3 separate regions of the Homo sapiens genome follow, and regions 2 and 3 are each linked to region 1. Evidence: promoter capture Hi-C in 16 types of primary human blood cells and fetal thymus (Javierre and others, 2016). All regions are on one chromosome and are shown on one strand. The core of a region is centred on a gene start or on the middle of the fragment in contact, and the rest is flanking DNA. Distances in the headings are between cores, read along the strand shown. Region 1 holds the start of GBP4 (guanylate binding protein 4). Region 2 has its middle 21 kb from the start of GBP5. Region 3 overlaps GBP7 (guanylate binding protein 7).

The links. The method cuts DNA at HindIII sites, captures the fragments that hold promoters and counts their contacts. A CHiCAGO score of 5 or more calls a contact.
Region 2: a contact is called between a fragment that was not itself captured here and the fragment with the promoter of GBP4 in region 1, in 7 of 17 cell types (activated CD4 T cells, non-activated CD4 T cells, total CD8 T cells and 4 more). The highest score is 12.7, in activated CD4 T cells.
Region 3: a fragment that was not itself captured here is called in contact with the fragment with the promoter of GBP4 in region 1 in 4 of 17 cell types (activated CD4 T cells, naive CD4 T cells, non-activated CD4 T cells and 1 more); the score reaches 9.2 in activated CD4 T cells.

Annotation. Positions count from the first base shown.
Region 1 is chr1:89,197,576-89,201,185 of GRCh38, reverse strand. GBP4 (guanylate binding protein 4) reads left to right here and starts at 2,244. Exons shown (of 11, transcript NM_052941.5): 1 at 2,244-2,391. The coding sequence starts at 2,352. It overlaps LOC107985076 (a long non-coding RNA gene), which reads right to left and starts at 2,839. Exons shown (of 3, transcript XR_002958332.2): 1 at 2,778-2,839; 2 at 2,128-2,683. RefSeq lists a silencer at 2,146-2,440. The HindIII fragment of the contact is 3,654 bases long and covers 1-2,410 here.
Region 2 is chr1:89,250,411-89,253,892 of GRCh38, reverse strand. It overlaps the pseudogene LOC100421401. Among named protein-coding and RNA genes, the nearest start is that of GBP5, 21 kb to the left of the region's middle. The HindIII fragment of the contact is 4,280 bases long and covers 1-3,482 here.
Region 3 is chr1:89,135,493-89,139,180 of GRCh38, reverse strand. The region is part of intron 9 of GBP7 (guanylate binding protein 7); the gene reads left to right. The region is part of intron 1 of LOC105378842 (a long non-coding RNA gene); the gene reads right to left. Among named protein-coding and RNA genes, the nearest start is that of GBP2, 11 kb to the right of the region's middle. The HindIII fragment of the contact is 8,826 bases long and covers 1-3,688 here.

The sequences.
Region 1 (3,610 bases), core at 995-3,494:
GCCTTCAAGAATGTGAGAAGTAAATTTCTGTTGTGTATAACTTACCCAATTTACTTATTTTTTATAGACGCCCAAACAGACAAAGACACTTCTTCATGCTTATTTTTTGAGCCAATCACCTCTGTTAAACAACAATGGTGTTATTATTACTTCTACATCCTTTATGCCAGTTGATAAGAATTTGGTGTTGACACAGAACAGGGTACCTCTTCTTCAGGAGATCATTCCAGATTGGGCCATTCATATGCTTATCACTACCTCCAGAATGTCAATTTGTAAAAACACAGACACACACACGACAGTGACTATTCTGAACTATATTAAAGTAAGTACACACAGATAACATTATCACTTGCCCTGTATGATCTACTAACGTCATAACTTTCTGTCTCCTTGCCTTGCTCAGTGAGATTAAAAACATCTGCAACTCATTTCCTCCAGTTTCCTTCCAAAATCAGTGAGCCAGTAAAACACCCTCATTTCAAAAAACTGTTTTATTTGATACATCTTGTAAATGAATTACAAGTTAACCACAAAATACAAAAACATATAGACATTGCACTTTAAATATTCAAAAAATGTATAAATAAGAAGCTCAAAATCTGATATGGAAAAATATTCAAAAAATGTTCAGAGTCTTTTTATCAAAATAAAAGTTATTTCCTTTTTATGAGTATGTGTGTGCATATCTGTGATTATAAAAAAAGTCTTTAAAAATTCATATAATTCAGAAAGACATTTTAAAAAAATCACCTGAGCTAGAAGTACTAATTTTAAGGAGGTAGTGGTTGGGGGAACACTTATAGACTTTTATCTGTGTAACACAGACATATTGCTATGTATATTTTCTATGTGCATAGACATATTGCTATGTGCAATCATTATACATACAACTGTGAATTAACAATTTTTTTTGAGACAGTATCTCACTCTGTTGCCCAGGTTGGAGTGCAGTGGGACCACCATGGCTCATTGCAGCCTTGACCTCCTGGGCTCAGGTCATCCTCCCACCTCAGACTCCCAGGTAACTAGGACTATTATAACAGGCACATGCCATTATGCCCAGCTAATTTATTATTATTATTATTTGTAGAGATGGGGTTTCCCCATATTGCCCAGGCTGGTTTCCAATTCCTGGACTCAAGTGATCTGCCCACCTTGGCCTCCCAAAATGGTTGGATTGCAGGAGTGAGCCACCACACCCAGCCTAAATTTCTTCTTGATTAACATTTCCATGATTATCTGAAGTCAGTAACATTGGATTATCTGGAAAGGGGTGCCACTGGTGAAATTCAGGTGTTTCAAACACATTTACCTGGATTCAGTCATCCCTGTACTTTTTCTTCTTCTTCTTTTTTTTTTTTTTTAAGAGAGAGGGACTTCCTGACATTAAAAAATGGTAAGAGAAAAAAGCACCTGATTTCTTATTACTGGTCCTATTTAAAACTTGACTTAGCTTTATTTTCACTTTCAATATTGCTTATAGGAAATAAATGTTAAGTTTTGAATCAAAATCGGCACCAGTAATTTTACCTGATTAAGTGCCTAAAATTTTGTACTTATTAATTTGCAAATGTTTAATCAGACATTACTAAACAAATAGGAAGATCTAAGGGATAGGCACAAATGGGGAATCATTACCCATTTATTTCAGATAGATTTCCCAAACTCTGTTAACAAACTGGCTAGTCATTTTAGGAACTGAGTCCATTTTTCTGGTAGCCTGGGTAAGACTCCTAATTATAAATTATGCTTTTTATGGTCCAATCATCCTCCTGTCCTCCAAAAGATCCAGTTTCAATGAGATGTTTGTGTTTTGAAAGAGAAGTATTTACTTGCCACCACCGCACCTCTGGGCAACAACGTTAGAGGATACATAGATATCCATAGACACACACACAAACACACACATATTTTATGGTTAATGAAAAAATAAAGAAAAGAGATGAGAAACAGAAACATATAAGCATGTAAAAAAAAATAAAAGCAAACAAAAACTCAAATTTCTTCCCTGACAAAATTACCCCTGAGAGACAGGTAGATGAAACAACATTCATGTCTGCTGCTCTATATTCATTTTGGAGGCGAAAGATACCTAAGCTAAGGGTGGAAGAGGGACAAACAAACCTGAGTTTCAGGAGTCTGGTGTGGAGGAACCAGCACTTTCAAGCTCCTTTAGTTTCCTGTCTTGATAAACAGGAAAATCCCCAACAGTCAACTCCCCACAAAGTGCATGTCCTTTCAATTTCGGTTCTCACAGACTCTTACTTGGATGTCTGTAAATCCGGCTGGACTTTCAGCTTCTAAGAACAGTCCGTTTCTCGAGGATCCAGGCGCAGGAGGACAGAGCAATGGGTGAGAGAACTCTTCACGCTGCAGTGCCCACACCAGGTAAGTTTGCTCTTAAGCTTTACCTTTCAAGTATATTTGGGTTATAACAAACAACAACAAATTCCCAAGCGCAGACTGCACACGGGGAGGGTTGGAGACTTCACACTGGCGGGTGACAAAGGCAGTGGAGGAACCTCGCGGGGAAGTCTGATGCTGCTTGAACCCCTGAGTGCTTTGCTCCGTGTGGCCCAGCGTCTCTAGACGGTCCACAGGCGGCGACCAGAGGCGCACCGGTGTCTCCAGGATGCGCTGCTCCTCCTCGGGCTTCCTCCCAGAGCTGTGGCATTTTCTCCTGCGAAATACCATCATCTAGTATACATATACACATTTTTTGCTTGTTTGTTTTATTAATTTTCTGTCCCCCACTAGAATATGTGATACCCTACCTTGTTTTAACCTGAGTTGACTCTCCCTTAGCTGAAAGAGCCAGACAGTCTGCATCTCGGCTCCTTCACTTGCAGCCCCTTACCCACCCGCTTCCTCAGGGACTTAACTTGTGCAAGCTGACTCCCAGCACATCCAAGAATGCAATTAACTGATAAGGTACTGTGGCAAGCCATACCCGCAGTTCCCAGGAATTCGCCCGGTTAACAGCACCCAGAGCCCCCCGCGTTTGTGTCTGGTTGATAAAGCCCAAAGCCCCGCTTCTATCACCTTGTGATAGAATTAAAGCCCCTGCACCTAGTACTGTTTACTTTCCTGTAACCATTTATCCTTTTAACTTTTTGCCTACTTTACTTCTGTAGGATTGTTTTAACTAGACCCCTCCCCCCAACCTCTCCTTTCTAAACCAAAGTATAGAAGAAAATCTAGCCCCTTCTTCGGGCCGAGAGAATTTTGAGCACTAGCCGTCTCTCGGTCGCCGGCTAATAAAGGACTCCTGAATTCGTCTCAGAGTGTGGCGTTTCTCTGTAACTCGCTGGGTTACAACAAATAGAGCTCCAAGAGGCAGAAGTTTGTATCAATTATGTTCCTTGCTTGTTGCTGAGAATCTAGAACGGTGTTAATTAGCACATGGTAGGTACGCAATACTCTTTATTAAATTAATGAGAGAGCAAATTCTTCTGGAATGCCTGGAGCCTTTTCTAACCACTCCTCATCTCCTTTTTGTAACATCCTGCCCCTATTTATTCCAGGAGTGGAATTATTCTGCCATCAGTGCCTTGATTTTCTAATTCTGTTTATTTTATGCATCACCTTGACAAGGCATTTTTAGCGT
Region 2 (3,482 bases), core at 161-2,660, 54 kb before region 1:
CTCCTGACCTCATGATCCGCCCGCCTTGGCCTCCCAAAGTGCTGGGATTACAGGCGTCGGCCACCGCGCCCGGCCTATGTGTCTGTTTTTATGCCACTACCATGCTGTTTTGGTTGCTATTGATCTGTAATTTGAAGTTAGGTAATGTGATTCCTCCAGTTTTGTTCTTTTTGCTCAGGATAGCTGTGGCTATTCTGGGTCTTTCGTGGTTTCAAATAAATTTTGGGATAGCTTTATTTTTTTCTATTTCTGTGAAGAATGTCATTAGTATTTTGATGGAGATTGCATTGAATCTGTAGATTGCTCTGGGCAGTATGAACATTTTAACAATATTGATTCTTCCAATCCATGAAGATGGAATATCTTTCCATATTTTTCTGTCCTCTTCAATTTCCTTCATCAGTGTCTTATAATTTTCATTATAGAGATCTTTCACTTTTTTAGTTAATTCTTGAGTATTTAATTTTATTTGTGGCTGTTGGAAATGGGATTACTTTTATTTTTCACATTGTTCACTGTAGGCATACAGAAATGTTACTGATGTTTGTATGTTGATTTTATATCCTACAACTTTACTAAGTTGGCTTATCAGTTTTCATTGTTTTTTTGGTGGTGTCTTTAGGTTTTTTGAAATATAAGATCATATAATCTGCAAATAATGATAAATTGACTTCTTGCTTTCCAATTTGGATGCCCTTTATATCTTTCTCTTGTCTGATTGCTCTAGTTAGGGCATCCAATACTATGTTGAGTTACAGTGGTGAAAGTGGTCATCCTTGTCATGTTCCAGTTCTTAAAGGCTTTCAGGTTTTTTTCCAATTCAGTGTCATAAAAACTGTGGGTTTGTTGTATATGGCTTTTATTATCTTGAGATATGTTTCTTCCTTACCCAGTTTTTTTAGGGTTTTTATCATGGAGGGATGTTGAATTTTATCAAATGCTTTTACAGCATTAGCTGAAATGACCATATGGCTTTTGTCCTCCATTCTGTTGATATGAAGTATCACATTGACTAATTTTCGTAGGTTGAACCATACTTGAATCCCAGAGATAAATCCCACTTGGTCATGGTGAATGGTCTTTTTAATGTACCGTTGAATTTGGTTTGCTAGTATTTTCTTGAGAGTTTTTACATCAATACTCATCAGAGGTATGAGCCTGTAGCTTTCTTCTTTTTTATGTGTCATTGTCTGATTTTGATCAAGGTAATACAGGCCTCATTAACTGAGGTTGAAAGTATTCCTCCCTACTCTATTTTTAAGGATAGTTTGAATATAATTGGTATAACCTCTTCTTTAAATTAAACAGTGAAGTCGTTGCGTCCCAGGCTTTTCTTTACTGGGAGACTTTTTCTTATGGCTTCACTATCATTACTTGTTATTGGTCTGTTCAGGTTTTGGATTTCTTCGTTGTCCAATCTTGGTAGGTTGTATGTGTCTAGGAATTTTTCCATTTCTTCCAGATTTTTCAATGTATTGGCATATAGTTTTTCATAGTAGCCACTAATGATCCTTTGAATTTCTGCAGTACCCATTATGTCTCCTTTTTCATCTCTGATTTTGTTTATTTGAATACTTTCTTTTTTCTTAGTCTGACTGAAGGTTTGTTAATTTTGTTTAATTTTTTAAAAAACAACTTTTGTTTCATTGATCTTTTGTATTGTTACTTTCATTTCAATTTCATTTATTTCTACTCTGCTCTTTATTATTTATTTTCTTCTAATTTTAGGTTTGGTTTGCTCTTTTCTACTTCTTTAAGATTAGTCATTAGGTTGTTTCTTTGAAGTTTTTCTTTTTTTTAATGTAGGCACTTATAGCCATAAATTTCCCTGCTAGTACTGCTTTTGCTGTATCTCATAGGTTTTGCTATGTTGTATTTTCATTATCATTTGTCTCAAAAAGTTTTTCAATTTCCTTCGTAATTTTTTCATTGACACATTAGTCATTCAGGACCACATTGTTTAATTTTCATGTATTCTTATAGTTTCCAAAAACTGTCTTGTTAATTTCTAGTTTTATTCCATTGTGGTTAGGGAAGATGCTTGATATTATTTTAATTTTTTAGATGTGTTAAGACTTGTTTTGTTACCTAACATATGGTCTATTCTTGAGAATAATCCATGAGCTGAGGAAAAGGATATGTATTCTGCAGCCATTGGATGCAATATTTTGTAAATATCTATTCGATCCATTTGGTCTATAGTGCAGATTAAGCCCAATGATTCTTTGTTGCTTTTCTGTCTGGAAGATCTGTTCAATGCTGAAAGTGGGGTATTGAAGTCTCCAGCCATTATTGTATTGCAGTCTCTCTCTCTAGCTCTAATAATATTTGCTTTATATATCTGGATGCTCCAGCGTTTGGTGCATATATACTTAAAATTGTTATATTCTCTTGTTAAATTGACCCCTTTATCATGATATACTCACTGGCTTTGTTTTTCCTTATAGTTTTTGTCTTGAAATCTATTTTGGCCTGATATGAGTATAGCTACTCCTGCTTGTTTTGTTGTTTCCATTGGCATGGAATACCTTTGTCCATCTCTTTGTTTTCAGATTATGAGTGTCTTTATAGGTGAAGTGTGTTTCTTATAGCAGCACATCAATGGGTCTTGTGCATTTAGCCACATCTTTTGATTGGCAGGTTTAGTCCATTTTCATTCAATGTTATTATTGATAAGTAGTACTCCTGCCATTTCATTGTTTTCTGGTTGTTTTGTGGTCTTCTCTTACTTCTTTCCTTCCTTCCTGTCTTTCTATAGTGACAGTGATTTTCTTTGGTTATATGATTTAGTTTTTTGCTGTTTCTTTTTTGTGTTATCTGTTGTATGTTTTTTGGTTTGAGGTTACCATAAGTCTTGCAAATATTGTCTTATAATCTCCTATTTTAAGCTCATAACAAAACTTTTGCATAAACAAACTACAAACAAGCAAAAAGAAAACTAATAAAAACTCTATGCTTTAACTTTGTCCCCCCACTTTTTAACTTTTTATTGTTTCTATTTATATCTTATCATACTGACTATGTCCTGAAAAGTTGTTGTAGTTAATTATTTTGGATTAGTTTATCAGTTAGTCTTTCTACTTGGGATAAGAGTAGTTTATACACCACAGTTACAGTGTAATCATATTCTGTGTTTTTCTGTATTTCTGTATACTGACTATTATCAGTGAGTTTTGTACCTTCAGATGATTACTTACTACTTGTTAATGTCCTTTTCTTTCTGATTGAAGTAATCCCTTTAGCATTTCTTTTTATACAGGTCTGATGTTCATGAACTCCCTCAACTTTTGTTTGTCTGGGAAAGTCTTTATTTCTTCTTGATGTTTGAAAGATATTTTCACCAGATATACTATTCTAGGGTAAAAGTATCTTTTTTCCTTAGCACTTTGAATACATTATGCCACTCTCTCATGGCCTCTAAGATTTCCACTGAAAGGTCTGCTGCCAAATGTATCTGGAGCTCCATTGTATGTTATTTGTTT
Region 3 (3,688 bases), core at 279-2,778, 61 kb after region 1:
TTTTGTCAGGTTTGTCAAAGATCAGATGGTTGTAGATATGTGGCATTATTTCTGAGGGCTCTGTTCTGTTCCATTGATCTATATCTCTGTTTTGGTGTTGAGCATTTTTTCATATGCTTGCTGGCCATGTGTATGTCTTCTTGGATAAATGTCTGTTAATGTCCATTGCCCATTTTTTAATGGGGTTGTTTGCTTTGTTCTTAATTTCTTTAACTTCCTTATAGATTCTGGATATTAGACTTTTTTCAGATGCATAGTTTGCAGATATTTTCTCCCATTCTGTAGGTTGTCTGTTTACTCTGTTTATAGTTTCCTTTGTTGTGCATGAACTCTTTAGTTGAATTAGGTCCCTCTTGTTAACTTTTTGTTCGGTTGCAGTGGCTTTTGAAGTTTTCATCAGGAAATCTTTGCCAGTGCCTATGTCCAGAATGGTATTTCCTAGGTTTTCTTTTGGTGGTTTTATAGTTTTAAATTTTACATTTACATCTTTAACTCATCTTGAGTTGATTTTTGTATATAGTGAGAAGAAGGGGTCCAGTTTCAATCTTCTGCATATAGCTAGCCAGTTAACCCAGCACCATTTATTGAATAATGCATTCTTTCTCCATTGCTTTTTTTGTTAGCTTTACCAAAGATCAGATAGTTGTAGGTGTGTGGTATTATTTCTGCTTTCTTTAAACTTTTCCATTTGTTCATGTGTCTGTTTTGTTTTGTTTTGTTTTTTGACCAGCACCATGCTATTTTGGTTATTGTAGTCTTGTAATATAGTTTAAACTCAAGTCATGTGATGTCTCTGGCTTTGTTCTTTTTGCTTAGGAGTGCCTTGGCTACTCGGGGTTTTTTTGTTGTTGTTGTTCCATGTGGATGTTAGAATAGTTTTTACTAATTCTATTTTTAAAAAGTCATCGATAATTTGATAGGAATAGCATTGAATATGTAAATCAATTTGGGCAGTATGGCTATTTTAACAACATTGATTCTTCCTATCCATATGCATGAAATAATTTTCCATTTGTTTGTGCAGTCTCAGATTTCTTTCAGCAGTGTTTTATAATTCTCATTGTAGAGATGCTTCACCTCCCTGATTGGCTGTAAACCTAGGTATTTTATTCTTGGTTATTCACAATAGCTATTGTGAATAGGATTGTGTTCTCGGTTTGACTTTCAGCTTGGACATTATTGGTGTGTAGAAATGCTACTTATTTTTGTACATTTACTTTTTTATCCTGAAACTTTGCTGATGTTTATCAGATGGATGAGACTTTGGGCAGAAATTATGGAGTTTTCTAACTACAGAATTCTATTGTCTATGAAGAGAGAGAGTTTGACTTCCTCTCTTCCTATTGGATAACTTTTTTTTTCCCCTTTGCCTGATTTCTCTGGCTAGGACTTCCAGTACTATGTTGAATAAGAGTTGTTGAGAGTGGGCATCCTTGTCTGTTTTTGGTTCTCAAGTGAAATGTTTCCAGCTTTTTCACATTCAGTATGATGTTGGCTGTGGGTTTTTCATAGATGGCTTTTATTATTTTGAGGTATGTTCCTTTGAGGCCCAGTTTGTTGAGATATTTTAACATGAAATATTGAATTTTATCAAAAGCCTTTTCTGTGCCCATTGAGAAGATCATCTGGTTTTTGTTCTGAGTCCCGTTTGTGTGAGGAATCAATTTATTATTAGCATATGCTGAATCAACCTTGCATTCCAGGAATAAAGCCTAATTGACAGTGGTGGGTTCGCTTTTTAATGTGCTGCTGGATTTGGTTTGCTAGTATTTTGTTGAAGATTTTTTCATCCATGTTCATCAGGAATATTGTCCTGCATTTTTCTTTTTTTGTTGTGTCTCTGCCAGGTTTTTAAAATCAGAATGATGCTGGCCTCATAGAATGTATTAGGAAAGATTCCCTGCTCCCCATTTTTTTTGGAATAGTTTAGTAGAATTGGTACCAGCTCTTCTTTCTATGTATGGCAGAACTGACTATGACTCTGTCTGGTCTAGGGCTTTTTCTGCTTGGTAGGCTTTTTAATGCTGACCCAATTTTGGAACTTGTTATTAGTCTGTTCCAGGTTTCAATTTCTTCCTGGTTCACTTTTGGTAGGTTGTATGTTTCCAGGAATTTATCCATTTCTTCTAGGTTTCTTAGTTAGTGTGCATAGTGGTGTTCATAATAGTCTCTCAGGATTTTTTGTATTTCTGTGGAGTTGATAGCAATGTCCCTTTTGCCATTTTTTTATTGTGTTTATTTGGATCTTCTCTTTTTTTGTTCTTTTTTAGTCTAACTAGAAGTATATCCATCTTATGTATTTTTCCAGAGAACCATTGGTTTCATTGATCTTTTGTATGGTTTTTCTTGTCTCCACTTTATTCACTTCAAGTCTGATTTTGGTTATTTCTTGTCTCAGCTAGCTTTGTGCTTGGTTCACTTTTGTTTTTCTAGTTCCTCAAGGTGTAATGTTAGATTGTTAATTTGAGATATTTCTAACTTTCTACTGTAGTCGTTTAGTGCTATTAACATTCCTCTTAACACTGCTCTAGTTGTGTCTCAAAGATTCTGGTAGGTTGTATCTTTGTTTTCATTAATTTCAAATAATTTATTTCTGCCTTAAATTCACTGTTTACCCCAAAATCATTCAGAAGCAGATTAATTAATTTTCATGTAATTGTATAGCTTTGAGAGATATTCTTTGTATTGATTTCTATTTTTACAGCATTGTGGTCTGACAGCATTGGTATGATTTGGGTTTTTTTTTTATTTGTTGAGAATTGCTTTATGGCAGAGCAAGGAGTCAATTTTAGAGTATGTGCCATGTGCAGATGAGATGAATGTATATTCTGTTATTGTTGGGTGGAGTGTTCTGTAGATGTCTGTTAGGTCCATCTGGTCAAATGTCAAGTTAGGTCCTGAATATCTTCGTTAGTTTTTTGCCTCAATGATCTGTCTAATATTGTCAGTGGAGTGTTGAAGACTCCAACTATTATTGTGTGGTTATCTAAGTCTCTTCATAGGTCTCTTTGAACTTGTTTTATGAATCTAGGGTCCTCTAGTATTGGGTGCATACATATTTAGTATAATTAAGTCTTCTCGTTGAATTGAAACTTTTATCATTATGTAATGCCCATCTTTATCCTTTTTGATCATTATTGGTTTGGAGTCTGTTTTGTCTGAAATAAGAATAGCAACCCCTGCTCTTTTTGTTTTCCATTTGCTTGATAGATTTTTCTTCATCCCTTTACTTTGAGCCTATTGGTGTAATTGCATATGAGATTGGTCTCTTGAACATCGAAGACAGTTGGGTCTTATTTCTTTATGCAACTTGCCACTCTGTGCCTTTTAATTGGGGTTGTTAGCCCTTTTACAGTCAAAGTTAATATTGATATGTGTGGATTTGATCCACACTTGATTGTGTTATTGCTCTGTAGTGTCAATGATCCATGTACTGAAGTGTGCTTTTGTAGTGGCTGATAATGGTCTTTCATTTTCATGTTTAATGCTCTTTTCAGCAGCTTGAGTAAGGCAGGTCTGGTGGTAACAAATTCCCTTAGCATTTGCTTGTCTAAAAAGGATTTTTTTTTTCTTATGAACCTTAGTTTGGCTGGATATGAAATTCTTCCTTGGAATTTCTTTTCTTTACAAATGCTGAATATAGGTCCCCAGTCTCTTCTGGCTTGTAGGGTTTCTTCTGAAAGTTCCA